Linked DNA regions of Homo sapiens: regions 2, 3, 4, 5 and 6 are each linked to region 1. The links are contacts of gene promoters, found by promoter capture Hi-C in blood cells and fetal thymus (Javierre and others, 2016). All regions are on one chromosome and are shown on one strand. The core of a region is centred on a gene start or on the middle of the fragment in contact, and the rest is flanking DNA. Distances in the headings are between cores, read along the strand shown. Region 1 holds the start of KRABD5 (KRAB domain containing 5). Region 2 holds the start of RUSF1 (RUS family member 1). Region 3 overlaps ZNF267 (zinc finger protein 267). Region 4 has its middle 3.1 kb from the start of AHSP. Region 5 overlaps ZNF267 (zinc finger protein 267). Region 6 has its middle 9.9 kb from the start of LINC02190.

The links. The method cuts DNA at HindIII sites, captures the fragments that hold promoters and counts their contacts. A CHiCAGO score of 5 or more calls a contact.
Region 2: a contact is called between the fragment with the promoter of RUSF1 here and the fragment with the promoter of KRABD5 in region 1, in 9 of 17 cell types (M0 macrophages, naive CD4 T cells, megakaryocytes and 6 more). The highest score is 7.8, in M0 macrophages.
Region 3: a fragment that was not itself captured here is called in contact with the fragment with the promoter of KRABD5 in region 1 in 3 of 17 cell types (M2 macrophages, total CD8 T cells and neutrophils); the score reaches 5.7 in M2 macrophages.
Region 4: a fragment that was not itself captured here is called in contact with the fragment with the promoter of KRABD5 in region 1 in 9 of 17 cell types (neutrophils, M2 macrophages, naive CD8 T cells and 6 more); the score reaches 11.9 in neutrophils.
Region 5: a contact is called between a fragment that was not itself captured here and the fragment with the promoter of KRABD5 in region 1, in 13 of 17 cell types (activated CD4 T cells, neutrophils, total CD4 T cells and 10 more). The highest score is 8.9, in activated CD4 T cells.
Region 6: a fragment that was not itself captured here is called in contact with the fragment with the promoter of KRABD5 in region 1 in 2 of 17 cell types (neutrophils and M2 macrophages); the score reaches 9.4 in neutrophils.

Annotation. Positions count from the first base shown.
Region 1 is chr16:31,710,302-31,715,476 of GRCh38, forward strand. KRABD5 (KRAB domain containing 5) reads left to right here and starts at 2,943. Exons shown (of 5, transcript NM_001130913.2): 1 at 2,943-3,134. The coding sequence starts at 3,132. RefSeq lists enhancers at 3,110-3,229, 4,354-4,403 and a silencer at 3,320-3,379. The HindIII fragment of the contact is 15,701 bases long and covers 1-5,175 here.
Region 2 is chr16:31,506,277-31,511,451 of GRCh38, forward strand. RUSF1 (RUS family member 1) reads right to left here and starts at 2,115. Exons shown (of 13, transcript NM_022744.4): 1 at 1,798-2,115; 2 at 1,488-1,602. The coding sequence starts at 2,097. RUSF1-DT (RUSF1 divergent transcript) reads left to right here and starts at 2,188. Exons shown (of 2, transcript NR_186401.1): 1 at 2,188-2,760; 2 at 2,897-3,290. RefSeq lists enhancers at 1,101-1,816, 1,817-2,531, 2,096-2,665 and silencers at 1,826-1,885, 1,946-1,995. The HindIII fragment of the contact is 29,640 bases long and covers 1-5,175 here.
Region 3 is chr16:31,898,335-31,903,509 of GRCh38, forward strand. The region is part of intron 3 of ZNF267 (zinc finger protein 267); the gene reads left to right. Among named protein-coding and RNA genes, the nearest start is that of ZNF267, 27 kb to the left of the region's middle. The HindIII fragment of the contact is 9,198 bases long and covers 1-5,175 here.
Region 4 is chr16:31,522,230-31,527,404 of GRCh38, forward strand. No RefSeq gene overlaps it. Among named protein-coding and RNA genes, the nearest start is that of AHSP, 3.1 kb to the right of the region's middle. The HindIII fragment of the contact is 4,720 bases long and covers 1-4,678 here.
Region 5 is chr16:31,881,185-31,886,359 of GRCh38, forward strand. It overlaps ZNF267 (zinc finger protein 267), which reads left to right. Exons shown (of 4, transcript NM_003414.6): 2 at 3,314-3,440; 3 at 3,977-4,072. Among named protein-coding and RNA genes, the nearest start is that of ZNF267, 10 kb to the left of the region's middle. The HindIII fragment of the contact is 4,868 bases long and covers 8-4,875 here.
Region 6 is chr16:31,541,088-31,546,262 of GRCh38, forward strand. No RefSeq gene overlaps it. Among named protein-coding and RNA genes, the nearest start is that of LINC02190, 9.9 kb to the right of the region's middle. The HindIII fragment of the contact is 8,775 bases long and covers 1-5,175 here.

The DNA of each region.
Region 1 (5,175 bases), core at 1,693-4,192:
GAGAATCTGAAAGCAGAGGTGGTGCAGCGTCACTAGCTCCAGGAATCCAGAAAAACAGGGATAGGGCATTCTGGGAGGTTGAAGTGGGTGGATCACTTGAGCTCAAGAGTTGGAGATCAGTCTAGGAAACACGATGAAACCCCATCTACACAAAGCAAAAATTAGCTTGGCGTGGTGGCGCGACCTGTAGTCCCAGCTACTCAGCAGGCTGAGGTGGAGGATCGCTTGAGCCTGAGAGGTCCAGGCTGCAGTGAGCCATGATTGTGCCACTGCACTCCAGCCTGGGTGATAGAGTGAGACCCTGTCTCAAAAAAACAAAACCAAAAAAACAGAGCTAGGGCTGGGGACCCCTATGGCCACTGAATCTGAGCCCCTGGGGGCAGAGGAACTGAGCTCCCAGCCCTGTGGCTGCCAAGGATCCTTTTTCCTTGAGCTTGCAGGGATTGAGAGAGAGAGAGTCAGCGGCCCTGATGTTAGCGATGCAGACTCCAGGAGAAGGGGGCATGCTCGCAGTTTAGAGGAAGTGAGCCCCTCTTCCACGTTCCACTCCCACCATCCTCCTGGGACCCCAGCCTGCATGCCCCCCAAAAGATGCTTTTGCACTGATTCAACAAAGCCTAAAGATGCAAAGGCCTAATTGAAGACCTGTGAATGGCATGTACGGTCCTCAGTTCCCAGCTGAGGGGCCACTCGGGCTCCCCATATTCCCCTCAGCCTCTCCATCTTCCAACAGGGGTGTGGAGTGCATCCATGGCCATGAGTATTGATCTGTCCCAGCCTGTGCATTGCTCCGAGGCAGTTCTGAGTGGATGATGTACAGATGGGATTCCTCAGCTCATTTGCGTGGTTGACGTTATGGCTGCTGGTTTTACTGCCACAACTCCCAGGCCCAACCTGGCTTAATGTCTAAGTTTTAAGCCAAAAAAGATGGGGAGCAGAGCTTTGTGGCAGGGCTGGGGGTTGGGGTCCACTTTAGTTTTGTGGCAGGATGAAGGCTGCAGTGGTTTTATTAATCATGATTGGCCTGGCCGTAGCTCCAGGCTGAGAGGGACAGGTTTGTCAGTGGTGGTCCCCCAGATGTCCCTGTGCCCAGCCCTGGCCTGTCTGCCCTCAGGCCCAGCAGGAGGCGCTACCACAGGCTCTGACTGGCGTCCCTACTCCCTGTACCCCAGATGGACAGAACCTTCGGGTCTACAGTCGGAATATATCATTCTCCCCATTTTAACCTGAGCTGCCTGACACACGGAGGGTGTGCTGGGTAAGGGGCCTAGGGAGCCAGGGTTGAATCATGGATCCTGGGGAAAGGTTGCAGACACAGGAAGGGTTGTCACCTCTCTGTGGAGCCCTGCTGCTTACCACACAGCACCTTCTGCAGAGACTAGCTCTGAGGGTGGCAGGGGACCCCACAGGCCATGGCCACTCCCTCTCTGCACCTGTCCGTGCCTGCTGTGGAAGCCTGGACTGGGGGAGGAGATTGCTACCCTGTGAGCCTGAGGGAGCCACGTCCAGCTGTGACCTCTACCTGGGGCTTTACAGAGAGTTGTTTATGGGTAACAGACACCTTGTTTCAGAGGGAATGGGCATGAGCTGGCAAGTGAAGCACCCCCACAGCTTATCAGGAACTTTTTCTCATTTTTAAACCATCATGTCTTCATTTCACATTGGAATAAAGTGAGGTTTTGGAACCTGCTGCCCCAGTCTCTGGATTGTGAGGGCTGTTGTCAAACAGGTTACTAGGAGAGGAATATGTATAAATTAGCTCAAATTCAAGGTTATGCTTGTAATGTCACCTGAGTGGGAAGTAAGAGGGTGGAGTCACAGGCACTCAGCTGGGATTTACCTGGCCTCGTCACTAGACTAATGGGATTGTGGCACAGGTGAACATCCCGTCATTGGAGAAGAAAGGCTGGATTGAAGGCCAGGTGGGGGAGGGGTGCTAGGCTGTGGGGTCAGGCCCTGGGCATGCTGGACCTGTTAGGTCACTGAACATCTGACTGGGCACCTGCCCAGATTTGTCCCTTCAGTTGAGGTGGGATTGGCAGCACTCCCCAGAAGGCGTGCAGTGCCGGGAGAGTGGAGGAGGGTCTGACGTTTGCTATCCTGTGGTAGGTTTTAGAGCTAACTAGATGCTTGTGGAGAGCTAATGACATGGGAAGAAGGCAGCCCACCTTGATGGACCGGAGGGTTAGAGCCTGCGATGTGAGAAGCGGGTGTGTGGAGGTGGCCTGTCTACAAGAGGGCAAGTTTAAGGCCCATTGCAGTGGCACTATCTCAGCTCACTGCAGCTGGTGGCTGCCAGGCCATCCCTCTCCAGAGCAGGGAGGCCCTCAGCCTTATGTATAATTGAATGCCTTTTGGGATGCTTGGATAGTCCTTTATGTCTTGGAAATTCAGAAAAGAAAAAAAAAATTACAATCCTCCTGTCTGTTAGTTTCCCTGAGCCAACTGGATAAAAGATGTCCCTGACCCCAAGATTTTAAGTGACACCCAAGGGAAGCCACCGTTACCTTGGCTGTTGAAGCCTCCTGCATGCTCCCCAAAAACCCCAGCAGTTTCCTCTGCAGTCCCACAGTTATGTCCTGAGCAGTGGGGTACCGTGTGATGAGAGGTGCTAAGGATGGGATGAGGGTCTTTCCTGTGTTATTAGAACGGTTAAAAAGTTGTTTTAAAGGTGCCCAAATGCCCTCCTTCTTAAACTTAATTAGCTAATAAGATGCCTTATACAAGCAAAACCAGGTACGGGAAAGCAAGTGCATTTCAAGTCCAAGCTCACCCCTTAAATTAGCTGTAATACCCTCAGCAGGTGGCCCCACCTCAATGAGCCTGTCTCCCATTCAAAAAGCAGAACGAGTGAGAGGGCGGGGCCTGGAGCTTTACCCAATCAGTGGCGTCGGAGTGGAAATCCTCCAATCGGGAGTAGCCGGAGAGCAGGGGCGGCTTCCGGGATTTGGCGGTGGCCTTTGTTGGCTGCAGTAAGAGCTCAGTCTCTTCACCAGGGGCTCCCAGTCCTTCCATCTGGGAGGCCAAGGCGGCTTCGCGTTCTGAGAATAGACAGAACCTCTGTTACTCTGTGACCGGCAGGCACCGGGAGATCCGTAGCTCAGACGCCAGGACATCCCGGAAGCTGGGAAATGGTGAATGTGCCAGGTCGGGGGTCCCCAGAAGAGGGAGAGGGGCGGTCGGAAGCGGCGGGAACCCTCTTTGAGGTTAGCTTCGGGGTCTGGGCCCTGAGTCCCCGCGGACGCAACTCGGCCCTTGGTCCCCTCCGCCGCAAGATGGCGGCCGGGCCGGCAGCCGGGACCCCGCGCGTCCGGTCCCCTCCCGACCCCGCAGAGCGACCTCTGCCATGGCCGGAGCCGTCTTTGGGTCGCCGCAGCCCGGCGTCTCCCGAGATTGTGCGGTGAGAACGTGAGGGTCTTAGGGGAAATCCCGGGTCGGCGTGTGATTCGTGTGTGGGAAGATACTGTGCCCCGTGGTGTCCCAGTCTCCTTTTTCCTCTTACAAATTAAGGGGAGTCACCCTTAAAGCGTTAAAGGGTTGATTTAGGTAAACAGCGATTGGTGAAATGGGAAGCCTGCCGCCGTGGTTTGTGGTTTAGGGTCCTCTGGAGCAGCGATTTCAAAATCCCAGGGCTCAGCTTAGGAATGCTGCTGGGGAAAAGAAATAGGGACAATCTCTCTTCCACTTTGGCTGTAGAAAACGAATACATTTCCACAGAAAGTGTGCTAGATTAATTGGTCAATTACAAACATTCATTAAAATATCAGGTCCTCTCTTTTGCAGTGGAGGATTTGTGACAGTGGATATCTGTGTTCCATATTCTACTGCTATCTGGATGTCCGACTTTAATGCCAAATGTTATGAGACAGGACTTGGCACCTCCTAGAAGTGTTCACATATACTAAATGATCTGCTATTATGGAAATAATTAAATGACATGTTTCTTGCTCGAAAGAGGTATTTTGGCCTTACCTGTTGAAGTATAAAGTGTAAGTGCCTTACAGTTTCCTTCCTTTCTATAAAAACTGTTTTGAGTGATTTTGCTATTTTCCTGAAACCTGTTAGGTCACTGAACATCTGACTGGCTGGGCACCTGCTCCTGTCCCTTCAGTTGAGGTAGGATTGGCAGCACTCCCCAGAAGGCGTGCAGTGCCAGGAGAGTGGAGGAAGGTCTGACGTTTGCTATCCTGGGGTAGGTTTTAGAGCTCGCTAGATGCTTGTGGAGAGCTGATGAGATGGGAAGAAGGCACCCCACCTCGATGGACCTGAAAGAGAGAGCCTGCGAATTGAGAAGCGGGTGTGTGGAATAACCCTGACTAGGCATAGAAGACCTCAGTCTTATTTGAGCCTGCAAAAGGAGGTCATTGAAGGCCCAGTTAGTTCTTCCTGGGGAGCGCCCCCTTCAGGTGTCCCTGAGGTTCACAGCAGCCATGGAGGGAGCCCTTTGTTACTGGGAGAAGCTGCAGAGTTCTGGAAAGCAGGGGATTCACAGGCGGATGTGGTCGAGGTTGGGCTGGAAGGGAGATTGGGAAGCTCTTTCTGAGGGTGGAATTGTTAGTGTCCTGGGGCTGTTTCTTGACTTGGTCAAATAAAACATCTGGATATAGGTAAGAAGTGCCTTAATTGTAAAGGAGTATTGCAAGAGGAGGAAAGCACCAACTGTAAGATATTTGTGGATCTCACAGTTGAAGCAGAAAAGGCCTTTCTTTCATAGGGAGGAGCAAACATGATTCAAGGTGGGAGGGGAAGGGCACGACTCCTGGACTAAATCAGATCCCTGATCAGAGAATGTTTCACCCTGAAGTCAGCCTGTTCTTAGGAGGGGCATAAAGAGGGGTTGAATGTTGACTCAGGCTGTGGGTGGGACAAACCTCAGGCACCTTGGAGAAGGGGAGAAATTTAAGCAACTTTGGTTAACACATATTTTGTTTTGACCATCGAAGATAAAACTCTTTATTTAATTGCTTATGAGGGGGAAAAAAAGGAAATAGGAGAGTTTGTGGCTTTGTGATACCTAAAACAGGGAGCATCATCTAAGTCATAACAGGAAGAAGATTCTTTGCAGTAAGCTGCTCTTGAAGAACAAAAAGGAAGGGGGATTTCTTTCATCACAGCTGCTTCCCAGGGTTAACTACCTACTCCATCTTTTCCCCACTCCTTTCTCTTGCCCTACAC
Region 2 (5,175 bases), core at 865-3,364, 200 kb before region 1:
AACGAATTTCATGTTTAGACTTGAGTCTGATCCCCAACAAATCTCATTATATACATGAAGATATTCCAAAATCCAAAAAAAATTCCAAAATCCAAAACACTTCTGGTTGCAAGCATTTTGGATAAGGGATATTCAATCTGTATAGGCAACATGTTGGTGACATCACATGAAAACAAAAACTACTGACCCAAGCTCCAAATGCATTCCAAAAATACGGCCAACAAGCCGGGCGCAGTGGCTCACGCCTATAATCCCAGCACTTTGGGAAGCTGAGGCGAATGGATCACCCGAAGTCAGGAGTTCGAGACCAGCCTGGCCAACATGGTGAAACTCTGTCTCTACTAAAAATACAAAAAATTAGCGGGGCAGGGTGGCACATGCCTGTAATCCCAGCTACTTGGGAAGCTGAGGCAGGAGAATCGCTTGAACCCGGGAGGAGGAGGCTGCAGTGAGCTGAGATTGTGCCACTGCACTCCTGCATCCCAGCCTGGGTGACAGTGAGACTACGAGTCTGGAAAAAAAAAAATAGAGATGGGGGTCTCCCTATGTTGCCCAGGATGCCTCAGCCTCCCAAAGTACGAGGATTAAAGGCGTGAGCCACCGTGCCCGGCCCAGTTTTCTCAGTCTTAATGGTAAAGGTGTAAACAGGAAGCTCCTGTTTTCTCAAAAAAATCCAGAGAGGCTCACAAGGGATGTGGCCAGACTGATGCTACGAATGGAAAGCGCTTTTCCTTAGATCTATTAGGTTGGCTCAAATGTAATTGCGGGTTTTCCATTACCTTTAATGGCAATAACGACAAAGAAACCCCGCAATTACTTTTGCACCAGCCTAATAAATATCCCCTGCGAGCAGTAGTGAAAGACAAAGGACAGTGGCAAAAGCCATGGGGCCTCCTCGTGTAGAACATGTAACAATTTCCCTTTTCTGTTCTATTTCCCTCTCTGGGTGGCATGGTACCAAACTGTATTTTTTTTCCTTAAACAATTTTTTAAAAGCTGTACATATTCAGCAGATAGTCACTCTATTATTTACAGCATCATCTGGTATCCCAGAGCATACACAATACCTTCCATTCTTTCCAGGCTCTCCTCTCTCCTTCTCAGGACCAACTATATCTTTTTTTTCTGGAGCTCACCAATTTCCCCTATCCTGGGCAGCTGGCAGTTTTATTCCATCAATTGCATTCTTATGCAATCTTCCACAAAGAGAATAGGGATAAAGGGGAGGGGACGGGATTTGGGATCCAGATGATTGAGACTCAGAAGTCTGTGTGGGGAATGGAGTGCGGCTGCTAGGCTGGTGAGTGGGATGAGGGTCTTCCAGATGTGGGAAGTAAGACTGGGTTACAAAGCACCACTCTAATCACTGGGGAGACCTGCCTGAATTCTACCTAATGGGGCACGAGTCCATACATATATACACATAAGAGCCCAGCGAAAGCAGGGCTGAAAGCAGCAATACGTGAGGCTCCAGGGGTGCAGCTCACCTTTCACGAGCCAGGTGGCCGTGGCAGCTGAAACAGTGGCTTTTGCGTTCCCCACCCCTATGCCCAGCAAGACTGCCTGGGTGGCTAGGGAGCCGGAGAGGCTGGAAGCAAACGCCTGGAGAAGAAAACAAGTAGGGTGAGAAGCGGGCGTAGGAGCGTGGCGGTCTAAGTGCCTTCATCTGTTCTTGTTCTTGGTGTATGAGGCATGTCAGACCCCCCGCCCCCCGGGCTCCGAGTCTCAGTCACCCGTCCATTATTGGGGAGGGAGGAGTGGCCTGCACTGTCCTCTGCCCCAGACGACCGAGCTGACCTGCACGGAATCCCACAGCTGGTAGGGCAAGTAGTCCGGGCTGACGCTATCAGGGAAGCCCTGAGGCAGGAACACGGCCTGGAGCCCGGAGAGGGGCGGTGAGGGGGCCCCGGAAGCCCCCACTTCGCCCGCATCTCGTCCTTCAGGTTTGACCGTGAAGGCCCTGGAGAGCCCCCACCAGCGCCAGCCCCCGACCTCCCACTGCAGGCTCCCGTCCGCGGCGGCGCGGCAGCCCCGTGCCTCCCCGGAGCCGAACTGCTCGGAACACAGCGGGGTCTCCAAACCCGCGTCGTCAGCCATGCCGAGCTTTTGGATCCCAGCCCCGCCCCTGCCGCACGGTGGACGTGGCAGGCGGCACTTCCGGCTGGGCTACCGCGGCTGCAGAGGGACATCTTTCAAGAACAGGCGCCGGCCTCGGCGTCCGCCGCGCAGTTAGGAAACTGACTGTCGCTCTCTCCGGCCTCGGCGCTGCTTCGGACGCCCCGGCACCGGCCCCCGTTGCTTTGTAGCATTCTGCAGCTGGGCTGCAGGCGCCGTGGGCCTCCGCCAGTTGTGTTCGAGACGCGGTTCGGCCACAGAAGTTTTAGCTTGTGACTTTTGGCAAGTCAGTGGCCCTCTCTGGGCCTCAGGTGCCTTTTTTGCTGTGAGACCAGCGACTGTATTTTTAACCCTGATTTTATCCCTAGATCTACCCAACACATAGTAGGTGCTCAAAAGATATTTATGAGTGAATGAATGCATCATGAGAAGAAATTGGACCAGATGAGGCCCTGTGAAGCTGCTTGGGTCTTTTTTTGTTCTTTTTTTTTTCTCTCTTCTGAGTGTCCCTGGCCTGGACTAGAAATTCTCCATCCTTCGGCCTTCTGCGAGACTGCAGGAACATTACTTTTGAAGGATGCTAAGGAATCCGAGGGATGAAAAAAATCAAGAGATTGCAATGATGTCACAAAACAAGGAAACAAGGCAGGAAGTTCTTGTGTGTTTTTTTGCGGGAGAGAGTCCATGAAATTGGGGGGAGTCCAAAGAGGGAGTGTTTCTGTCCTTGGAACTCACCTTTTCTTCTTTCCATTTCTCCTCTTCTCCTTCCCATCTAGTGCAGCATCTTCACTCCGAAGCAGAAATTTGCCAAAAAAGCATCCTCTTTTTATCAGAAAATAAAATATCCTGGTTTCTTAGCCTGGCATTCTTGGATCCCCACAGTTTGATCCCAACCGACAACTCCTTATTTGAAACTTCAGATTCTCCCAAACCGTCACCTTCCTCGTGGACTTAATCCTGGAAGGCCCTTCTACCCCACTTCGCCTTATCTCACACAAACACAGTCTCTCTCTGACTGAGATAAACTTGAACACTTCTTTTCTTTTCTTTTTTTTTTTCTTTAAATTTCGGGTTTCAAAATACAAATGGCCTAATCACAACATTTCTGTAATGTTGTCTAAATTCAGGTACTGGTTTGAATAGAGGACAAAAATAAAACAAGGTTTGAAGACTAAGTACTTTAAAAACATATTTATTTAAATAGAGGCAGGGCCTCCCTATGTTGCCCAGGCTGCTCTCAAACTCCTGGCCTCAAAAGTGATCCTTGGGCTGGGCGTGGTGGCTCACGCCTGTAATTCCAGCACTTTGGGAAGTCGAGCCAGGTGGATCACTTGAGGTCAGGAGTTTAAGACCAGCCTGGCCAACATGTTGAAACCCCATCTCTACTAAAAATACAAAAATTAGCTGGGCGTGGGGGTGGTGTGGCCATAATCCCAGCTATCCGGGAGGCGGAGGCAAGAAAATCGCTTGAACCGTGCAGTTGTCATTAACTCCGTGTTTGTTATCTCTTTTTTACCAATGGTTTGCCAGTTTCTTCTACAAATACCTGTTGCTACCTATGTGCTCATTGGGATAGTGAGCAAAAACAAACAAGGGTCTTGGTCTTTTGGAACTTATATTAGGGAAGGATATTGATCAAATCATACAAATAAATGCAAAGTTGGAACTATTTCAATTGCTGTAGAGGGGTACATGTTATTTAATATGAGGACTTTTAGAAGGAGAATTGAGCTAATCAGTGGAATCAAGGGAAACTTTTTTTTTTGAGATGGAGTCTCCCTCTGTCACCCAGGCTGGAGTGCAGTGGCACAGTCTTGGCTTACTGCAACCTCCACCTCCTGGGTTCAAGTGATTCACCTGCCTCACCCTCCGGAGTAGCTGGGGTTACAAGCATTCACCACCACACCCAGCTAATTTTTGTATTTTTAGTAGAGACGGGGTTTTGCCATGTTGGCCAGGCTGGTCTTGAACTCCTGGCCTCAACTCATCTGCTTGCCTCGCCTCCCAAAGTGCTGGGATTACAGGCATGAGCCACTGTGCCCGGCCAAGGGAAATTTTTTAACAAAAATTTAAGTTGGGGTCTCTCTGTGTTGCCCAGGCCTCCCGCCTCGGTCTTCCAAAATGCTAGGATTATAGGCATGAGCCGTTGAGGCCAGCTGGGAAACTTTTTTTTTGAGGAAGTGTGTATTTAGCTGAGATCTAGAGTAAGAGTTAACTTGATTATGATGGGAAAATAATTTTCTGGAAAGAAGGAGCAGCATGTCCTGAGTGGGGAGGGAGCATGGTACCTAACATCCAACAAAGGCCGGTGCAGCAGAAGTCTAGAGCACGAGGGGCATGGGGAAAGGGCTGCTAGGGAGTTAGGGGCCAAACTGCAGGACATTGTAGGCCAAGCTCTTCTTCATCCTTAGGGTTAAGATTTATTTTTTATTCTATCAGTCAATCAATCAATCGATCGATGAGACAGGGTCTTGCTCTGTCACCCAGGCTGGAGTGCAGTGGTGCAATCATAGCTCACTGCAGCCTCAAACTCCTGGGCTCAAGTGATCCTCTTGCCTCAGCCTCCCAAGTAGCTGGGACTACAGGCATGCACCACCATGCCTGGCCAACTTTTAAAATTTTCTGTAGAGATGGGATCTCACTATGTTGCCCAGGCTGGTCTCCAACTCCTGGCCTCAAGTGATCCTCCCACCTCGGCCTCCCAAAGCTCTTGAGATTAAAGAATATATTGGTATATGTTGGAGTGGCACTTTAGAGAAGTAGTTGAATAAATTTAATTTTTTTTAAAAGACAGGTTCTCTGTCACCCAGAGAGTGCAGTGGTGTGATCACACTACAGTCTCACTACAGCCTCAACTTCCAGGGTTCAAGTGATCTGCCTCAGCCTCCCGAGTAGCTGAGACCACAGGCGTGTGCCACCATGGCTAGCTAATTTTTGTATTTTATTTTTGTAGAGACAGGGTTTTGCCATGCTGCCTAGGCTGGTCTCAAACTCCTGGGCTCAAGTGATCTGCCCACCTCAGCTTCCCAAAGTGCTGGGCTTATAGGCATGAACTGTGCC
Region 3 (5,175 bases), core at 862-3,361, 190 kb after region 1:
TTTTTGTATCTAAAGTGGGTCTTTTATTGAAAGCATAGAGTCGGATCTTGTTTATTGAATTTCAGCCAAATTTTGTCTTGTGAATGATTTAATTTTTTTTATGTACAAAGTAATTACTGAAAGGGAATGACATTGCTTTTTGTTTTTTATTTTAGATTTTGTAGCTTTTTTGTTTCTGTTTTCCTCTTGCTGTCTTCCTTGGTGTTTTATTGATTTTTTTTTATAGTGGCATATTTTGATTCCTTTCTCATTTCTTTTTGTGTATCTACTATAGGTATTTTTGTGGTTACCATAGATATTACACAAAACATCTTAAAATTATTAACAATTTGTATTAACCTGATAACTTTAGTAGCATACAAAAATCCTGCCTCTCTATGTCCCCTTATTGTATTTTATTGAGGTCACAAATTATATGCTTTTTATTGTGAATCCATTAACACAGATTTACGGTTATTTTTAAGTGTTGTCTTTTCACACACATAGGCTCAAAATAAAGGGATGGTGGAAGATCTGCCAAGCAGATGGAAAGCAAAAAAAGCAGGGGTTGCAATCCTGGTCTCTGATAAAACAGACTTTAAACCAACAAAGGTCAAAAGAGACAAGGCCATTACATAATGGTAAAGGGATCAATTCCGCAAGAAGAGCTAACTATCCTAAATATATATACACCCAATACAGGAGCACCCAGATTCATAAAGCAAGTTCTTAGAGACCTACAAAGAGACTTAGACTCACACACAATAATAATGGGAGACTTTAACACCCCACTGTCAATATTAGATCAAGGAGACAGAAAATTAACAAGGATATCTAGGACTTGAAGTCAGCTCTGGACCAAGCAGACCTAATAGACATCTACAGAACTCTCCAACCCAAGTCAACAGAATATACATTCTTCTTAGCACCACATTGCACTTATTCTAAAATTGACCACATAATTGGAAGTAAAACACTCTTCAGCAAATGTAAAAGAACAGAAATCACAACAAACTGTCTCTCAGACCACAGTGCAATCAAATTAGAACTCAGGGTTAAGACTCTCACTCAAAACTGCACAACTACATGGAAACTGAACAACCTGCTCCTGAATGACTACTGGGTAAATAACCAAATGAAGGCAGAAATAAAGATGTTCTTTGAAACCAATGAGAACAAAGACACAACATACCAGAATCTCTGGGACACATTTAAAGCAGTGTGTAGGTGGAAATTTATAGCACTAAATGCCCACAAGAGAAAGCAGGAGAGATCTAAAAGCGACACCCTAACATCACGATTAAAAGAACTAGAGAAGCAAGAGGAAAAAATCTTAAAATTACATAGTGAAAGGAAAATGTGAGAGATGTGCCTAACTGTGGTGTTTAGGAACAGGAAGTCTGCATACCTGTATGTATTTCAAAGTTAACAGGCTCTCTAATGCCTAGTTATTGGTTATACAGATTGCATAATGCCACTCAATATTTTTATTTAAAATACTTTATAAGCATATTATAAATGATATACTCATATGAGTGTATTTTCTAATAACCTAGATTGTAATATAAAACAAAAATGAATCAAGAAGTAAATTGCAATTAGGACTTCTTAATTACCTTTTTAGAAATTAATCTAGCTGCCAGTTGCATTTTAATTGAACCCTTGGTGTCATCCATATATATATACACACACACACACATACACACACACAATGTGTTTATTTATATATATATATAAACTGTGTGTGTAGTGTATTCATTTCCACAAGATACTGAAAATTTTGTGTCATCTTTGTATCCTATATTTCCATGTAATTAGTAATAATACAGAATTGTATCAGGTAAATTAAAAAAAAAAGAGAGCCATACAGTCACACACACGAGAAAGTGTTTGTCTTTTCAAATGTATAGCAGAATTAAAAGTATTCTATATACTATTATTACAATAATACCGAATACTTTATTTGTGTATATTATTACCTTAACCAGAAAACTTTATACTGTTACATGATTTTGTGTTCCTCCCTACCATCATGTTATTTTTCAATATAAAGAACTGACTCCTTTAGCATTTCTTGTATGACAGGTCTAATGGATATAAATTCATTTAGCTTTTATTAAGAATTCTTTATTTCTTTATTTTTTTTCCTGAAACGGAGTCTCGCTCTGCCACCCAGGCTGGAGTGTGGTGGCGAGATCTTGGCTCACTGCAGGCTCCGCCTCCTGGGTTCACGCCATTCTCCTGCCTCAGCCTCTTGAGTAGCTGGGACTACAGGTGCCTGCCACCACGCCCAGCTATTTTTTTGTATTTTTAGTAGAGATGGGGTTTCACTGCATTAGCTAGGATGGTCTTGATCTCCTGACCTCGTGATCCACCCGTCTTGGCCTCCCAAAGTGCTGGGATTACAAGCATGAGTCACTGTGCCCGGCCCCAAGAATTCTTTCTTTTTTTTTTTTTTTTTAATTTTTAACTTATTTTTATTTTTTTATTTATTTTATTATTATATTTTAAGTTTTAGGGTACATGTGCACAACGTGCAGATTTGTTACATTTGTATACATGTGCCATGTTGGTGTGCTGCACCCATTAACTCGTCATTTAGCATTAGGTATATCTTCTAATGCTATCCCTCTCCTCTCCCCCCACCCCACAACGGGCCCCAGTGTGTGATGTTCCCCTTCCTGTGTCCATGTGTTCTCTTTGTTCAATTCCCACCTATGAGTGAGAACATGCGGTGTTTCGTTTTTTGTCCTTGGGATGGTTTGCTGAGAATGATGGTTTCCAGCTTCATCCATGTCCCTACAAAGGACATGAACTCATCATTTTTTATGGCTGCATAGTATTCCATGGTGTATATGTGCCACATTTTCTTAATCCAGTCTATCATTGTTGGACATTTGGGTTGGTTCCAAGTCTTTGCTATTGTGAATACTGCCACAATAAACATACATGTGCATGTGTCTTTAGAGCAGCATGATTTATAATCCTTTGGGTATATACCCAGTAATGGGATGGCTGGGTCAAATGGTATTTCTAGTTCTAGATCCCTGAGGAATCGCCACACCAACTTTCACAATGGTTGAACTAGTTTACAGTCCCACCAACAGTGTAAAAGTGTTCCTATTTCTCCACATCCTCTCCAGCACTTGTTTCCTGACTTTTTAATGATCGCCATTCTAACTGGTGTGAGATGGTATCTCATTGTGGTTTTGATTTGCATTTCTCTGATGGCCAGTGATGATGAGCATTTTTTCATGTGTCTTTTGGCTGCATAAATGTCTTCTTTTGAGAAGTGTCTGTTCATATCCTTCACCCACTTTTTGATGGGGTTGTTTTTTTCTTGTAAATTTGTTTGAGTTCATTGTAGATTCTGGATATTAGCCCTTTGTCAGATGAGTAGGTTGCAAAAATTTTCTCCCATTCTGTAGGTTGCCTGTTCACTCTGATGGTGGTTTCCTTTGCTGTGCAGAAGCTCTTTCATTTAATTAGATCCCATTTGTCAATTTTGGCTTTTGTTGCCATTGCTTTTGGTGTTTTAGACAGGAAGTCCTTGCCCATGCCTATGTCCTGAATGGTATTACCTAGGTTTTCTTCTAGGGTTCTTAAGTTTTAGGTCTAATATGTAAGTTTTTAATCCATCTTGAATTAATTTTTGTATAAGGTGTAAGGAAGGGATCCATTTTCAGCTTTCTCCATATGGCTAGCCAGTTTTCCCAGCACCATTTATTAAATAGGGAATCCTTTCCCCATTGCTTGTTTTTGTCAGGTTTGTCAAAGATCGGATGGTTGTAGATATGCGGCATTATTTCTGAGGGCTCTGTTCTGTTCCACTGGTCTATATCTCTGTTTTTGTACCAGTACCGTGCTGTTTTGGTTACTGTAGCCTTGTAGTATAGTTTGAAGTCAGGTAGCATGATGCCTCCAGCTTTGTTCTTTTGGCTTAGGATTGTCTTGGTGATGCAGGCTCTTATTTGGTTCCATATGATCTTTAAAGTAGTTTTTTCCAATTCTGTGAAGAAAGTCATTGGTAGCTTGATGGGGATGGCATTGAATCTGTAAATTACCTTGGGCAGTATGGCCATTTTCACAATATTGATTCTTCCTACCCATGAGCATGGAATGTTCTTCCATTTGTTTGTATACTCTTATTTCATTGAGCAGTGGTTTGTAGTTCTCCTTGAAGAGGTCCTTCACATCCCTTGTAAGTTGGATTCCTAGGTATTTTATTCTCTTTGAAGCAATTGTGAATGGGAGTTCACTCATGATTTGGCTCTCTGTTTGTCTGTTATTGGTGTATAAAAATGCTTGTGATTTTTGCACATTGATTTTGTATCCTGAGACTTTGCTGAAGTTGCTTATCAGCTTAAGGAGATTTTGGGCTGAGACGATGGGGTTTTCTAGATATACAGTCATGTCATCTGCAAACAGGGATAACTTGACTTCCTCTTTTCCTAATTGAATACCCTTTATTTCCTTCTCCTGCCTGATTGCCCTGGCCAGAACTTCCAACACTATGTTGAATAGGAGTGGTGAGAGAGGGCATCCCTGTCTTGTGCCAGTTTTCAAAGGGAATGCTTCCAGTTTTTGTCCATTCAGTGTGATATTGGCTGTGGGTTTGTCATAGATAGCTCTTATCTATGACGTCCCATGAATACCTAATGTATTGAGAGTTTTTAGCATGAAGCGTTGTTGAATTTTGTCAAAGGCCTTTTCTGCATCTATTGAGATAATCATGTGGTTTTTGTCTTTGGTTCTGTTTATATGCTGGATTATGTTTCTTGAATTTCGTATTTTGAACCAGCCTTGCATCCCAGGGATGAAGTCCACTTGATCATGGTGGATAAGGTTTTTGATGTGTTGCTGGATTCGGTTTACCAGTATTTTATTGAGGATTTTTGCATCAATGTTCATCAAGGATATTGGTCTAAAATTCTCTTTTTTTGTTGTGTGTCTGCCAGGCTTTGGTCTCAGGATGATGCTGGCCTGATAAAATGAGTTAGGGAGGGATTCCCTCTTTTTCTATTGATTGGAATAGTTTCAGAAGGAACGGTAGCAGCTCCTCCTTGTACCTCTGGTAGAATTCAGCTGTGAATCCATCTGGTCCTGGACTTTTTTGGTTGGTAAGCTATTAATTATTGCCTCAATTTCAGAGCCTGTTATTGGTCTGTTTAGAGACTCAACTTCTTCCTGGTTTAG
Region 4 (5,175 bases), core at 1,069-3,568, 190 kb before region 1:
AGGGACTCCTGATAGTCGCAGAATGGCATCTCTGAGGCCAAACCATGTCTGAATTGACACTCCATGTTATCTAACTTTTTCACTCTCCTCTGCTCTGCAGTGTGGGGTGGAGTTCCCCAAAGCAGAAGCAGTTGTGAGAATTCAGCTGTCTCCTACTAATCCAGGTATTTCAGAGACCCCTGTAGGCAGAACACCATGGTCCCGAGATGAGCAGGAAGAACCCTTCCAATGGGTATGCGGTCCTGGGAAGTTTTAGAGAATCAAATTCCAGTTCTTTGAAGTCCATACTCACTCATTCTCAAAATCAACTAGGCCCGGAAACGGTGTCCAGGGGAGTCCCTGCCCCTGGGCCCTTCTCACGTTTCCTTCCTTCTCCCAATTGCCAATCTCACCTGCCTGAAATTTACAAGGGGCGTTGTCCCAGACCACCAGAATAGGGACCCTTCAACAATTCCCTCAATTCTATGCCATCCATCTGATTAGAGGATTTATTTCCAATACAATTGGAATTTCTGTTTCATAAATATTTATTAAAATTTGAAACATTCACTTTGGTAAACCGCATTTTACTAAATATGTGTCTATATATGTTATATATATATATAAATTTCCTCTTGAATATATATGTCAGAGCTGTCTATCCATGTATTTATACAGAGAGAGAGTGAGACAGAGAGACCAACAGAAAGACACAGCACATGAGAGAAGTTGCAAGTAAGTAGAATGGGAGTGAACAAAATACAAGCACAAAAGCATGTGAGTTATCTTAGGATAAAGTTAAGTGGGGATAGTGGAATAGAAATACAAGTTCAAGAAGTAAAAGGCATGTTGTAAAACTCCCAGCTGCTAAGGAAAAACCTGTTTGGTTTTTAAAAAAATATATAGTGGTCAGGGCCAAATCACCACCCCATTAACATTGTGTTGGACACATTCAAAAGAGCGATGTGCGGTTTGTTTAAATGTGTTTGGATCCTGTCACAATTAAAAGCCTTTGCTATGATTTAAATGTATGAGGCAAAAATAAATGTCTACAAAACTTGTGTGGGAGTATACACAAAGATTCTTTAGAAGGATTGGATGAAAGAATTTGAAGACAGTTAAAGGAAAGAATCCCTAGCTGACATTACTTTTCCTCCTGAAACATGCAGTGGGGCTGCCCAGGCCTTTGTCTCCATTTGTTCTATTTACCTGTAGGAAAATAAGACTTGGTTCTCATCATAATTTTAGCAGTCATGACGTACATGGCCTCAAGGGAGTTCCAGAGGATGTTTTAGGCTCCAGGAGCCATTTAAGGGATGTTTCTTTCCAAAGAAAATGTTCATGTCATGAATTTTATTCCACTAACATAATCTGAACATACGGGTCTACCTTTAAATAATGGGCCAGATGACCCCTGTTTATCTAGGAGTGCAGTCTTCTGTCAGGGCAGATGTCCTTTCTACTGTGGAGAATTGCATTTTGAGACCCTATGAGTCTGAGCATATCTGTAAGGGGCTGCTGCTGTCTATTATTAGGGCGGCCTCTTTAGCTTTGGCTCTACACCATGTGGCTTGAAGATTTTCCTTGAATTTGACCTGAGCCCCTGACCCCACCCACATTGCTGGGGAGGAGGGGCCCGTTCTGGACTCTGGCACCTGTAACTCCTGACCCCCGGTCTTGCTTGCAGCGGAAAAGGAGAGGCAGAAGAGGGAGGTGCACACTCAGCCACTCTGGGCATCCTTCCTGGGTGGACTGGGCCCCCTGCAGGGCCTGCTCTCACCTACCCAGGAGCACAGCTGATCTCGGCTGGGTCTCCCTCAGCACACTCAGGATGTGTGGGGCAGGTGTCTGCGAGTCCCCGGGGGACTCAGGTTCCTGGCCAGTCTCACTGCCCCCTGCCCCAGCATTGAGACCCTCATGTGGCTGCAGATGTGGCTGATAGTGCCAATCAAGGGAGCCTCTGTCTTCCCAAACTTAAATTTCCCCTCCCATAACCTATAACTTCAGCCCCCTCCATTTTCTGAGCTAAGCTCCAATTAGTGAAAACAAAGTCAAGTGGGAGTCAGGGGACAGGAAAGTGGCCCAGGGGTGGGGCAGAAGAGGGGGAAGGGACAAGTCTCTCTCGAATGGATCCAGAGTGAGCTCCTCCCTCTTGCGAGTAGCCATGCTGCCAAGACGCTGACCTTCAGATGCGCAAGGCTCATGTCTCCTCCCCAGCCCTGGGACCCTCTGGAGGCTGCAGGTCCTGATTGCTGTGCCAGTCACAGCAGGAACAGGCCCCAAAAACGTCACATCTCCAGGAAATAAGACCAAGGTTCCACCTAACCAGTTCAGCTCTCACCTCCCTCCCAAAATGTTCACAGGGGAAACCATGGGCCAAACTATGTAACATGAAATCTACAACCTTTTTGCCCTGACTCCAACCTGGTACTGCCACGAGCAAGTCAGGGTTTTGCGTTGACTGAGTGGGATTTGGGTCATCAATTCCAATCAGATTTCTGGAGAAGGCTCTTCTTTCCCTGATGATTGAGGTCTTCATTGCAGTCCTCTCGGTGGAAGGAGAGGCCTTCCTGGAAGTCCAAACAGTTCTCTTTTCCTCCCTCTGGCTAATTTCTTGTTCAGCTGAAGCAGAGCCTGCCTCGATGAGGGAGTTCCTATTAGGTTTCTTAATTTTTAAGAGACATCACCAGAAGTGAATTCCTCTGTAAATCAGCAGTGCTTTATTTTTCTGTTGCAGAATGAGTTTGTGATCCTGGTTTTCTACAATTCTTTAGCAAATGTGTTTTTGTAATCTCACGTTCAACCCTTCCTTTATTGATGTATCTAGCATGCTGAAAGGGAATCAGTTTCCCCTGCTATTCTCAAGACACTGGTTGAGGGAGGAGACTTCAATTCTTCACTACATCTCACTAATTTTACTCTGCAATTCATTATAGTCCAGGTAGTTAGATTAGTTCCAACTGTGCCAGGAAATTTTGAGGAATGAACAAAATTAGATTTTTTTTTCCTTTTTTTTTTAAAAGATGGGGTCTCACTATGTTGCCCAGGCTGGTCTTGAACCCTTGGGCTCAGACGATCCTGCCGTCTCTGCCTCTTACAGGCATGAGCCACTGTGCGTGGCTTCAATGTTAGATGTGTTCTTGGCAGCATGGTCTTCTAAGCCATCTGAGGCAGCACCATCTCTTTTGAGTTTCCTGGCATGTACCAGAGACCTTCCTGAAACTTTTCCTTAATGAGCTTTGGAAGGGCATTGGGATCTTGATCTTTCCCATCTGGTAATGAATTATTTTTAAAGAAATATTTAAGAAAAATTATTTAGAAGTGAAAGGATGTAGGAGACAGTCGGCCTGGTGTGATGTGAGAAAGACTGGACCTGGTGGTCATTGCTGGCTTTCAAGCTGGAAAGGGACCAGGAGTGAAAGAATGTGGGTTCTTCTATAGACTAGAAGAGGAAAGAAAAAGAACTCTTTTTCAGAGATTCCAAGGGGAACACAGCCTAGAGGACAACTTAATTTTAGCCTAGTGAGTCTCATTTTAGATTTCTGACCTCTAAGTCTGTAAGATAATAAATTTATTTATTTATTTATTTATTTAGAGACAAGGTCTCACTCTGTCACCCAGGCTGGAGTGCAGTGGCGTGATCTTCGCTCACTGCGGCCTCTTCCTCCTGGGTTCAAGCGATTCTCCTGCCTCAGCCTCCCAAGTAGCTGGGATTACAGGTGCATGCCACCATGTCTGGCTAATTTTTGTATTTTTAGTAGAGAGGGGGTTTCGCCATGTTAGCCAGGATGGTCTCGAACTCCTGACCTCAAGTGATCTGCCTGCCTTGACCTCCCAAAGTGCTGGGATCACAGATGGGAGCCACCGTGCCTGGCCGGTAACACATACTTTCCACCCTATATAAATGAAAACATGTTCACATGGAAACCTGTACACAAATGTTTATAGCAACTCTATTCACACTTGCCCCAAAGTACAAACAATCCAGATGTCCTTCCGTGGCTGAATGAACAAACTACAGTGCATCCATACAATGCAATGTGTCCACTGACACTTGTGACAACTTGGATGGAGCTCAAGAACATCATGCTGACCAAAAAAAGTCAGTCTCAAAGGTTACATACTGTATGATTCCATTTATATGACATCCTGAAAAAGGCTTAACTGTAGTGATGAACAGATAAGTGGTTGCCAGAAGTTATGGGTGAGGGTAGGGGTGGCTACAAAAGGGTAACGTGAAGGAGTGGTTTTTGGGTGACAGAAACATTCTGTATCTTAACTGCGTTTGTAGTTACACAAATCTGTTATAAAATTAATAAACTAGGCCAGATGCGGTAGCTCACACCTGTAATCCCAGCACTTTGGGAGGCCAAGGTGGGTCGATCACTTGAGGTCAGGAGTTCGAGACTAGCCTGGCCAACATGGTGAAACCCCATCTCTACTAAAATACAAAAATTAGCTAGGCGTGGTGATGCACGCCTGTAATCCCAGCTACTTGGGAGGCTGAGGCAGGAGAATCGCCTGAACCTGGGAGGTAAAGTTTGCAGTGAGCTGAGATCGCATCACTGCACTCCAGCCTGGGCCACAGAGGGAGACTCCCTCTCAAAAAAAAAAAATTTAATATACTGTACACCAAAAGGAAGTCAGTTTTGCTGTATATTGATTAAAAAATGCTACAACCAAAAAGGCAAATCAACAAAGCTTTATGAGTGTATAGGCACCTATGAATGTTGGGTTTTGAATGGAAAAAAAAAGTGACAGGAAATATACAATGTTTAATGCTGGTTACTTTGGAGGGGGCAAAAATGATTCAGTTTTTCAGTGTACGTTTTTGTATTGTTTTAATTATTTCAATTAGTATATAGTGATTTTGAAATTTGAGAAACATCTACTGAAAATGGAAAATATCTGGAAAAATATTTAAAAAGAGGAAAAAGAGTATTTCTGCTTTATTGGGTACCTGTTGACAGGGTAGTAAACAAGACAAATCCATCTCCATTCTTTTTTTTCTTTTGAGATGGAGTCTCGCCCTGTCACCCAGGCTGGAGTGCTGTGGTGTGATCTTGGCTCACTGCAACCTCTGCCTCCTGGGTTCAAGCGATTTTCGTGCCTCAGCCTCCCAAGTAGCTGAGACTACAGGTGCCCGCCACCACGCCCGGCTATTTATCTCCATTCTTATGGAGCACAGCGTGGTGG
Region 5 (5,175 bases), core at 1,192-3,691, 170 kb after region 1:
AGGATGAAGCTTAAACTATTTAAACAAGGCAAACCATGGGAGTCAAGTTCTTGTTGGTCAGGCTTAGGAAAGACAGCTGAAAATAAAGCAGCAATGTAGAGATGAGAAGCCTAGCCCAGCCCCTGCCCCAGCTCTGCCCAAATCCAGCCTCTTCTGAGCCTGGTCCAGGTCTGTCCCTACCCTGGAGCCTCCCCTCACAGAACTGACTAGAGGAGATCAGATTTCTGGGTGGCCGCTGCTGCCATCTCTTCAGAGGTGGTGCTCACAATTTCCCCAAACCCAAAAGCAGGTAAATGGGAGCACAGGACTCACTTTTTCAAAATTATTTGAAAATTAAATTTTTTTCTTATTGAAACCAGTACCTTTAGAAACATTCCACCTGGCAACATCTTTTTCATTTCTGCAGATCCAGTAGTTGCTTCACAAGTTGTCACAAAGTCAGTATAAAGATATAAAGAGAATAATGAGAAATTCTTTTTCTTCTTCTTTTTTTTTTTTTTTTTTTTGAGACCGAATCTCACTCTGTTGCCTAGGCTGGAATAGTGTCATCTCGGCTCACACAACTTCTGCCTTCCCGGTTCAGATGATTCTCCTGCCTCAGCCTCCCGAGTAGCTGGGATTATAGGTGTGCCACCATGCACAGCTGATTTTTGTATTTTTAGTAGAGACAGGGTTTCACAATGTTGACCAGGCTGATCTTGAACTCCTGACCTCAAGTGATAACACCCATCTTGGCTTCCCAAAGTGCTGGGATTACAGGCGTGAGCCACCGTGCCCAGTGGAGAAATTCTTGTGAACTAAACTTGACTCCTTCCTTTCTGTATCCCTCCCATCTGTCTATAGTTAGCTTTTATAGTGATAGGGAAACAAGAAGAAATAGAAAGGCTGAGCCATTATCTAAATCCTGCTGGGAATTATGGGATACTTAGGACCCATATCCCAGGGGTTTATATGGCTTAACTCACACCATGTGATGTTCCCAGCACAGTACATACTGTGAGCACATAGTACAAGCTCAATAAACACTGCTTTAATGCATGTATCCGTGCTGTTTTCCAAATGCTGACTTAGACATAACTGTCTTCTCCAGTCTCTGTATCTGTAGACTTTAAATGGCTGGCAAAGGGTGTGATCTTTCAGGACAGTGGTTGGTGGTCCTCACTGTGAACGAAAAGTATTTTTGTTGTGATTAGAGTATTGGGCGTAAGGGACTCTGTGCTGTGTCTGCTTCCTCTAGCTGAGTGCTATTGATAATGGGTCTAGGAGGAGCAACATCAGCATTGACAGGGGACTTGTTAAAGAAGCCAGTTCATGGAAACTTTCCAAACCTGCAGAATCACATTACTTAGAGGGGGCCCAGAATACCAAATGATATGTATGCGTATTGAACCTTGAGAGGCAATGCTTAGCTAAGTGATTCTCAGCCCAGGCTTCTAAGTAGGGTCACATAACCAGTTTGAAGATCTATGGTCACCTGTATCTTCCCCCACAGATTGTTTTTTTATGATTATATTAAGATTATGATTTACTGTTCCCCTCCGCCCATATCACAGCAATGATTATGGGCCCATCTGTGCATTAGCACTGGTACCAATTTGTCTTATTACAGACGATGCTAACTTCATTCACTTGGTGCAGGTGCTCTCTGTCAGATTCCTTCGCTATAAAGTTAATCATTTTTCTCTTTGTAATGAGTATCTAGGAGGGAGGATTTACTGAGTGATGTCTATAAACCATCACATTTAATCCAGAGACTCCCATTTCTTTTTGGTTTCCCTTTGCTTGTAGCTTTCTTTGCAGAGTAAAGGCTCTCACATTTGTTGACAGGAGATAACAGCTTTTAAGACTGGAAGTTCTGAAGCAGGTCTCAGTTCTGTAGGTTTCCATTTTATTTCATCTCATGTCACAAGCATATGCTTATTTATTCTCTATATTTTCAGAGAAAGAACAAGAATTAACATATAACAAATATGTCTATTGTCTTAAAATTCTAAAATATATAATAGCACATAGAATAAACATAACAAAAACTTGAAAAAAAATACCAGACTCAGAAACAAGAGCCTTTACTTTATTTCATTGTATGTATTGGTCTTTATAAAGGCATCACAAAAAAGGCATCACCCACAAAGAGTTTTATAGTTTTTATACAATTTAAAATATTTTTAAATTTTATTTACACAGAAATATTATCTTACTTTTAGTGTGTATATAGTTACCATTATGTGCACATATGCACATAAAATGAAAGCATTATTCGATCACTATTGTGTGGCTGCTTTCTTGTTTTCGTTACTCAGTTACGAAATCTTCTCTGAACATTCTGTTAAGGTTGTCTCTGTATATTGGCCGGTATGTCCCTTTGAGATAAATTCTAAATCAGATAAACTGAGGCAAAATACAAACTACTATGTAGCAAATATTTGGAAAATAATTTTTATATAAGAGGAAGAATATAATTTTTCTCAGATTATTTATTGGGTTTTATATATGTAAACAACTTTTAGGATGATATCTGATATATTGTGCATGTTCAAAAAGGATTACTACCATTCTAGCTGTTATAACTTGTAAATTTCATAAAACTCTCAGTTTCACATCATGCCTGAATTCTTTCCTCAGTGTTCGACCTCTCTGCTATTCAAAAGTGGCTTTGGGGCCTGAAGCATTAACACTACTGGTGAACTTGTTAGACATGCAGATACTCAGCCAGCCATGGTGGCTCATGCCTGTAGCCTTAGCTACTCAGGAGGCTGAAACAGGAGGATCGCCTGAGCCCAGGAGGTTGAGGCTGCAGTGAGCCAAGATTCAACCACTGCACTCCAGCCTGGGTGGCAGAGCGAGACCCTGTGTCAAAATTAAAAATTAAAAAATATGGAAATGCAGAAACTCAAAATCTAGATCTCCTGAATCAGACTCTGCCTTTGAAGAAGATCTCCAGTTTATTGTTGTATACTATACAATTTGAGAAGTATGCCTCTAAGTCACCATGACTTTTGCACCTGAGAATTATACACAGCTGATTCTGGATGATGTAAATATAGCACCCAAAAATGTATATTCCTGTGTTGATGCCTTAGTTTTATATTTTACATTTGATATAAATATCTACACTAGTTTTGTGGATTTTATGTTATTTTCTTTCCACAGAGTTTGAGACTACATTAGAAAATATTACTGTGTTAAAAATGATCTTACTGAATAATTCAGGTCACTCATATATGTCAGAACCAATAACTGTCATTTCATCTTGGGACAAATGAAGAACTCTGCCATGGCCACATGGTCAGTGTATTCTTTATTTTTATTTCAGGGACTGTTGACATTCAGGGATGTGGCCGTAGAATTCTCTTTGGAGGAGTGGGAACACCTGGAACCAGCTCAGAAGAATTTGTATCAGGATGTGATGTTAGAAAACTACAGAAACCTGGTCTCTCTGGGTGAGGATAACTTGCCTTCGGAATATCTAATAACTAAGAGTTTTATTTTCTTTTCAGAATGTCCCTTGGGATCTTGTGCTTTGTATGAGTTAGTTTTAGATTCTTGTTTTCAGGAAAAAAATAGGGGTTTTGTTGAAGTAGAAAAAATTTCATAATGTTTGATTTTGACATTCGCCTTTTTATTTGAGGTGATGTACAAGTTTCACTCTAGTCGTGATTCTAGAAATTGGTTGACATAAACTATTGTTGCTTACACTTTAAAATCCAATTTTTTTTGTTTGTTTTTGATTCAGTCAGATTTGCAGAAGCTCAGGATCCCCAGATTTAAAATGCTTCCTAAATATTCTAAAGAAGCTGGTAGGAAACAATATTTTGAGAAATACTTTTCAAGAATCTTCTATAATGTCTTATTTTTTCTACTGAGCACAGTACTAAGTTAGAAATTAATCCTGTCCTGTGGGGCCAAAAAAAAGTATAAAAATAAAAAATAAAAAGAACCCTCATTAAGAGTCATGTGAATTTTTCCAATAAAACAGGTCTTGTTGTCTCTAAGCCGGACCTGATCACCTTTTTGGAACAAAGGAAAGAGCCTTGGAATGTGAAGAGTGAGGAGACAGTAGCCATCCAGCCAGGTAGGTGGGAGCGAATGAAGTAGATGACATGGGCGAGAGGTCCAGAAGTCAAGAAAGAACCAGACCTTGAAGTGTGGATTGGGAAGTTCTCCAGTGGAAATGATTTTTGAGACACCTGGCTTTATTTCTTTCCCTTGCTGTCAAAGAGGGACATCTTCTGTCCCATGCTCTTGAATTATCTGATGATTCTCCTTCCTCTTCTGTGATCCGCCATCATATTCACAGTGACAGCCAAAGTGCTCCCCTTGGCCTGTGAGGGCCTGCTTGATCTGACTGTTCTTCCATTGATTTGGGGGCTCTGGGAAAGTCTGTGCATGTTTCTACCTCTATGTGAAACCACTTCTAAAGTTCTGGTTTTGCCTCATGTCAGAAGTGTGTGAGGAGAGTGATGGACAGTGGAATTTTTTTCAGAAGTCTCAGGAATTCTGTGGATAGATGTCACATATTTTCTGATACATTAATTTTTAATCGTATTGTGGTTTCCAAGGTGATCCTATAGAAATTAAGATGCAGTAATTTTATGAAAATACAAGGCATCTTCCCAAATCTAAGAAAATCTAATCTTATGTTTCACTTCAACTTCTCATTTTTTCTCACCTGAACTAAGATGAGAAATTTAAACTCTATAGGCACAAATTCCACAAATGTAAAATAGTTTAATGTGTATTACTTATTATATAGACTTCTTATCTAAATTTTTGTCTATGGGGAGCTTAGAACATTGTCCAGTATATAATAAACTCTAAACTGTTGCCTTGTATCTTAATAACTATCATTCTATAATTTTGTCTGGTTCAGTATGAAGCTTACTGAGAATGTGTCCTTTAGTTCCTTTTTTTTCTTTCTAGACATATGATTCTTTCCACAATATAAATATTATCTATTTAAAGGTTACATCTTGATGATTTGATATACATACACATTGTGTAATGACTAACACAGCAAAGTTAATTACCACATCAGTCATCTCACATTAGATGCCAATTTTTGTGTGTGTGGTGAGAACTCTTAAGATGTACACTGTTAACAAATCTCAAGTATACTGTAGTGCAGGGGTCTATAGTACTGGTCTGTGGCCTGTGAGGAATCCGATCACACAGCAG
Region 6 (5,175 bases), core at 1,376-3,875, 170 kb before region 1:
AATGAGGAAATTCAAATTGTTATATCTACTTCTGTTCCCTGGAAAGCAGAGCCAGGAGAGTGTATAGCACAACTCCTGATTGTGCCATATGTAGAAATGGGGAAAAGTGAAATTAAATGAGCAGGAGGATTTGGAAGCACAAATAAACAAGGCAAAGCAGCTTATTAGATGGATCAAATTACTGATAAACATCCTACCTATGAAATAACTATCCAGGGAAAGAAATTTAAAGGTTTGATAGATACAGGAGTGGACATTTCAATCATTTCTTTGCAGCACTGGCCATCAATGTGGCCAATTCAACTCGCTAAATTTAACATAGTTGGATTTGGTAAAGCCCCTGAAGTATATCAAAGTAGTTATATTTTGCATTGTGAGGGGCCTGATGGACTACCTGGGACTATTCAACCAATTATAACTTCTGTACCTATAAATTTATGAGGGAGAGATTTATTACAACAATGGGGAGCACAAGTTCTAATTCCAGAGCAATTATACAGCCCTCAAAGTCAACATATGATGCATGAAATGGGGTATGTCCCTGGTATGGGACTAGTAAAAAATTTGCAAGATTTGCAGGAACCGCTTCCAGCAGAAAGACAAAGTTCCCACCAAGGTTTAGGATATCATTTTTGATGGCGGCCATTGTTAAGACTCCAGAACCTATACCTTTAAAATGGTTAACAGATAAGCCAATTTGGATAGAACAACGGCTGCTAAGAGAAACTGGAGGCTTTAGAGGACTTAGTTACTGAACAATTAGGAAAAGGACACATAGCTCCAACATTTTCCCCTTGGAATTCTCCAGTTTTTGTAATTAAGAAAAAATCAGGTAAATGGAGAATTTTAATTGATTTAAGAGCCATTAATTCAGCTATACAACCTGTGAGAGCATTACAGCCAGGATTCCCTTCTTCTGCTATGGTTCCAAAAAATTGGCCTTTAATAGTCATAGATTTAAAAGGCTGTTTCTTTACTATTCCTTTAGCTGAGCAAGACTGTGAATGGTTTGCATTTACGATTCCTGCAGTAAACAACCTGCAGCCTGCTAAGCATTTTCACTAGAAAGTGTTGCCACAAGGCATGTTAAACAGTCCAACAATTTGCCAGACTTATATAGGGCAAGCAACTGAACCTACTTGTAAAAAATTTTCACAGCGTTACATTATTCATTATATGGATGATATACTTTGTGTTGCCACCACTCTAGAAATATTACTCCAATGTTATGATCACTGGATTGGAGCACAGTGTTGGAGCATAGTGTGCCATGGCCACCCTATGTTCAACTGGTCTAAACAAAATGGTCAGATGGTAGAAATGGTAAGAAGTACAGCAAGAGTTCCTATTATATTGAAACATGGCAGTATAGTGGCACCTCAACCTCAGATGATATGGCCCGCTATAGGAGCTAAACATAAGGATTTGTGGAAACTATTAATGGTTCTTAGTAAGATCAAAATTTGGGAAAGAATAAAAAAGGATCTAGAAGGACACTCTACAAATTTGTCTTTGGATATTGCAAAATTAAAAGAACAAATATTTAAAGCATCCCAGGCACACCTGACCGTAATGCCAGGAACTGCAGTGCTTGAAGGAGCTGCAGACGGATTAGCAGCTATTAACCCATTAAAATAGATAAAGACACTTGGAGGCTCTGTGATTTCAATGGTGATTGTGCTTTTAATCTGTGTTGTTTGTTTTTGTGTAGTCTGCAGATGTGGATCCCGACTCCTGTGAGAAGTAGCTCACCGTGATAAAGCCACCTTTGCTTTTATTGCCCTGCAAAAACAAGAAGGGGGACATGCTGGGGATATCCCCCAAATCTGGCCATAAACTGGCCCCAAAAGTGGCCATAAACAAAATCTGCAGCACTGTGATTTGTTTGCGATGGCCATGACACCCATGCTGAAGGTTGTGGGTTCACCGGAATGAGGGCAAGGAACACCTGGCCCACCCAGGGTGGAAAACCTCTTAAAGGCATTCCTAAACCACAAACAATGGCAGGAGTGATCTGTGCCTTAAGGACATGTTCCTGCTGCAGATAACTAGCCAGAGCCTATCCCTTTGTTTCAGCCCATCCCTTTGTTTCCCATAAGGAATACTTTTAGTTAATCTATAATCTATAGAAACAATGTTTATCACTGGCTTGCTGTCAATAAATATTTGGGTAACTCTCTGTTCAGGGCTCTCAGCTCTGAAGGCTGTGAGTCCCCTGATTTCCCACTCCACATGCTATATTTCTGTGTGTGTGTCTTTAATTCATCTAACCCCACTGGGTTAGGGTCTCCCCCGACTGAGCTGGTCTTGGCATTTAACCAACCAGAATTTTGAAAGTAATGTTTATATATTTAAAAAGTTTTTTAAAATCAAACCCAATTTTAAAAATTAACTTGATAAAAATTTTGTGATGGAGAAAGATGTAGATGATTTTTAAACCTAATTTGTTTTGGTCAGTATTTAGAAGACTGCTGTGTGCACTTGAGCCCCTTCTTCACTGGACATTGCTGGTTATTCTGGACACTATGAGAATGAAGGATAGAAGCCATGTACTTGGCTATTGGCTCTTGTGGAAATGTAAAAAAATGTGAGGGAAATACCTCCTGCTTTTCCTCTTCTCTTATGTTTCGTAGGGGTAATAACCCTGTCCCCATATAACAGGCACAGTTACCAATAGCGACCTCATCAGCCTCACAGACGGGTCCCTTTCTGGCCCTCAAACCCCATTCTGGCCTCACCTCATCCTCCCAACAATGTCACCTACCATGTTCCTCCCACCTAAGGTATTCCAAGCTCATGTTCATTGTGGTCATGTTTTTTAAAAAAACTTTAGGCAAATTAAGTTGAACAGGATTTAATTGAGCAAAGAATGACTTGCAAACCAGGCAGCTCCCTTAACCAGAATAGGTTCAGAGAGACTCCATGCTGCTGTGTGGTTGGAGAGGATTTATGGACAGAATCAAGAAAGTGACATACAGAAAAAAGTACAGAAGTGAGCTGCAGAAACAGCTGCATTGGGTATAGCTTGGCATTTATCTTATTTGAACATGATGTGAACAATTGGCCGTCTTTGATTGGCCAAAGCTCAATGATTGGTACAAGAGCAGGCCATAGTCTATCTATACATCCAGGTAAGTTACAGTTAACTAGGTAGAGAGAAACTTTTAGGCCAAACTTAAAATATATAAGAAGACAGGTTTAGGCTAAACTTAATTTAACAATCTCCTCTTTTGGTCAAACTCTCAATTTTGTGTGTGACCAAAACTTAGGGCTTTAGTGCTACTCTGAGTCACTATCATGTTGGGCTTCTGGTCTCAGCAAATACATTCATAGATTGTGTTGTTTTCATGATTGTAAAAAGTAAAGTAGAGGTTCCTCTTCAAAGATTTTCCTCCCCATTTAATTAGGAATAAATAGTAACTTCCCTTAGAAGCAAAATTTATTCAAAGACCTGTGCTAACATTCTTAAATATCTGCTAGCCATGATAAAGAAATCAATGTACTTTGTGTTCTTAGCTCCCACAATTTAGCCTAAATATTTGCCCTGGCATGCTTATACTGGTTCAAGCAAGCATTAAGTCATAGCCTGTTCCTCTTCCTTATTTGAAGGTGTTTTTACCTTTCTTAGTATTCCACAAGTTACTCCCTCCTTCCTTTGTTCTCCTCTGCCTTTGACTCTTTTAAAAAGTTCTAAATTGCTAGCCAATTGGGACAAATACAGAATGTAAGGCCCCATTCCAGCCAGTGGAAACCAGGCACAGCAGTAGGGTGGACACGTCAGGTTATAAATAACCCTGTGTCCTTTGTTCAGTGTACTCTCTTGGCAAAACTGCTGGCAAGTGTAACCTTTCTGCAGGAAGTAAAAATGGCCTTGCTGAGTAAATTAAATTTATGTTCAAGTGCTATTTCTTTATAGCACCAGGGAACAAGCATTTCAAACAATGAGCATACATTTCTTTGAGTTTTTGTCATTCCAGTCAAAGAGATCATTTGCCATTCCATAGATGGCTGCAAACAAACATTTAATACTTTTGAGAGAATACAGAATACTTGGGAGATTACTGTTGTGAGTATCCGGAGGATAATACCAAGAGTTTGGAGTATGCTCCTTAGCCAGGGTCCAAACCAAACCAATTAAAATAAAATAGATCAAGGAGTGAGCTAGATAGAGTACTTGTTTTAACCCAGCAGGCTGTTTGTTAATTCCCTACAACTAAATCTCTCTAATACCTATGTATTCAACCATGTGCAGATTCTTCCACGTTCAGCCATTAGGTCATCTAGAGTTATTCTATTATCTAGCACAACTATAGCAACGGAACTTGAAGAAGACTGCTGTACAACCAAAGCCTTTGCAGTAGAAGCTGCTACAGAGCCCACTATGAGGGACAAATGTCTAATCATTGCCTCATTTATATTTACTCCAAACTATAGAAAAAGAGACCTAAGAAATGATGCCCATCGACAAGCGTGAAGGCCTCCTGGCAATATTCTCTTCACCCTATGCTGTAGGTTAAGAGGAGTGAACCAATGTTCTGTCTCTGGCTGATTATGGAGCAACAAAACTACCATTAAAATTCCTCATCCACATTGGCCCTTCATCTTTTATCCCTCAAGGCATAAGGTTGGCCATTATAAAATTGGCTTCAAAATACCCCACAAATAGGCTGGGTGTGGTGGCTCAGGCCTGTAATCCCAGCACTTTGGGAGGCTGAGGCAGGTGAATCACCTGAGGTCAGGAGTTTGAGACCAGCCTGGCCAACATGGTGAAACCCTATCTCTACTGAAAATACAAAAAATTAGCTGGGTGTGGTGGTAGGCGCCTGTAATTCCAGCTACTTGGGAGGTTGAGGCAGGAGAATTGCTTGAACCCAGATGGCAGAGGTTGCAGTGAGCCGAGATCACACCACTGCAACTCCAGCCTGGGCAACAGAGTAAGACTCTGTCTCAAAAACAAAACAAGGCTGAGCGTGGTGGCTCACGTCTGTAATCCCAGCACTTTGGGAGGCCGAGGCTGTCGGATCGCAAGGTCAGGAGTTCGAGACTAGCCTGACCAACATGGTGAAACCCCGTCTCTACTAAAAATACAAAAATTAGCTGGGCATGGTGGTGTGCCCCTGTAATCCCAGGTGCTTGGAAGGGTGAGGCCAGAGAATCGCTTGAAACTGGGAGGGT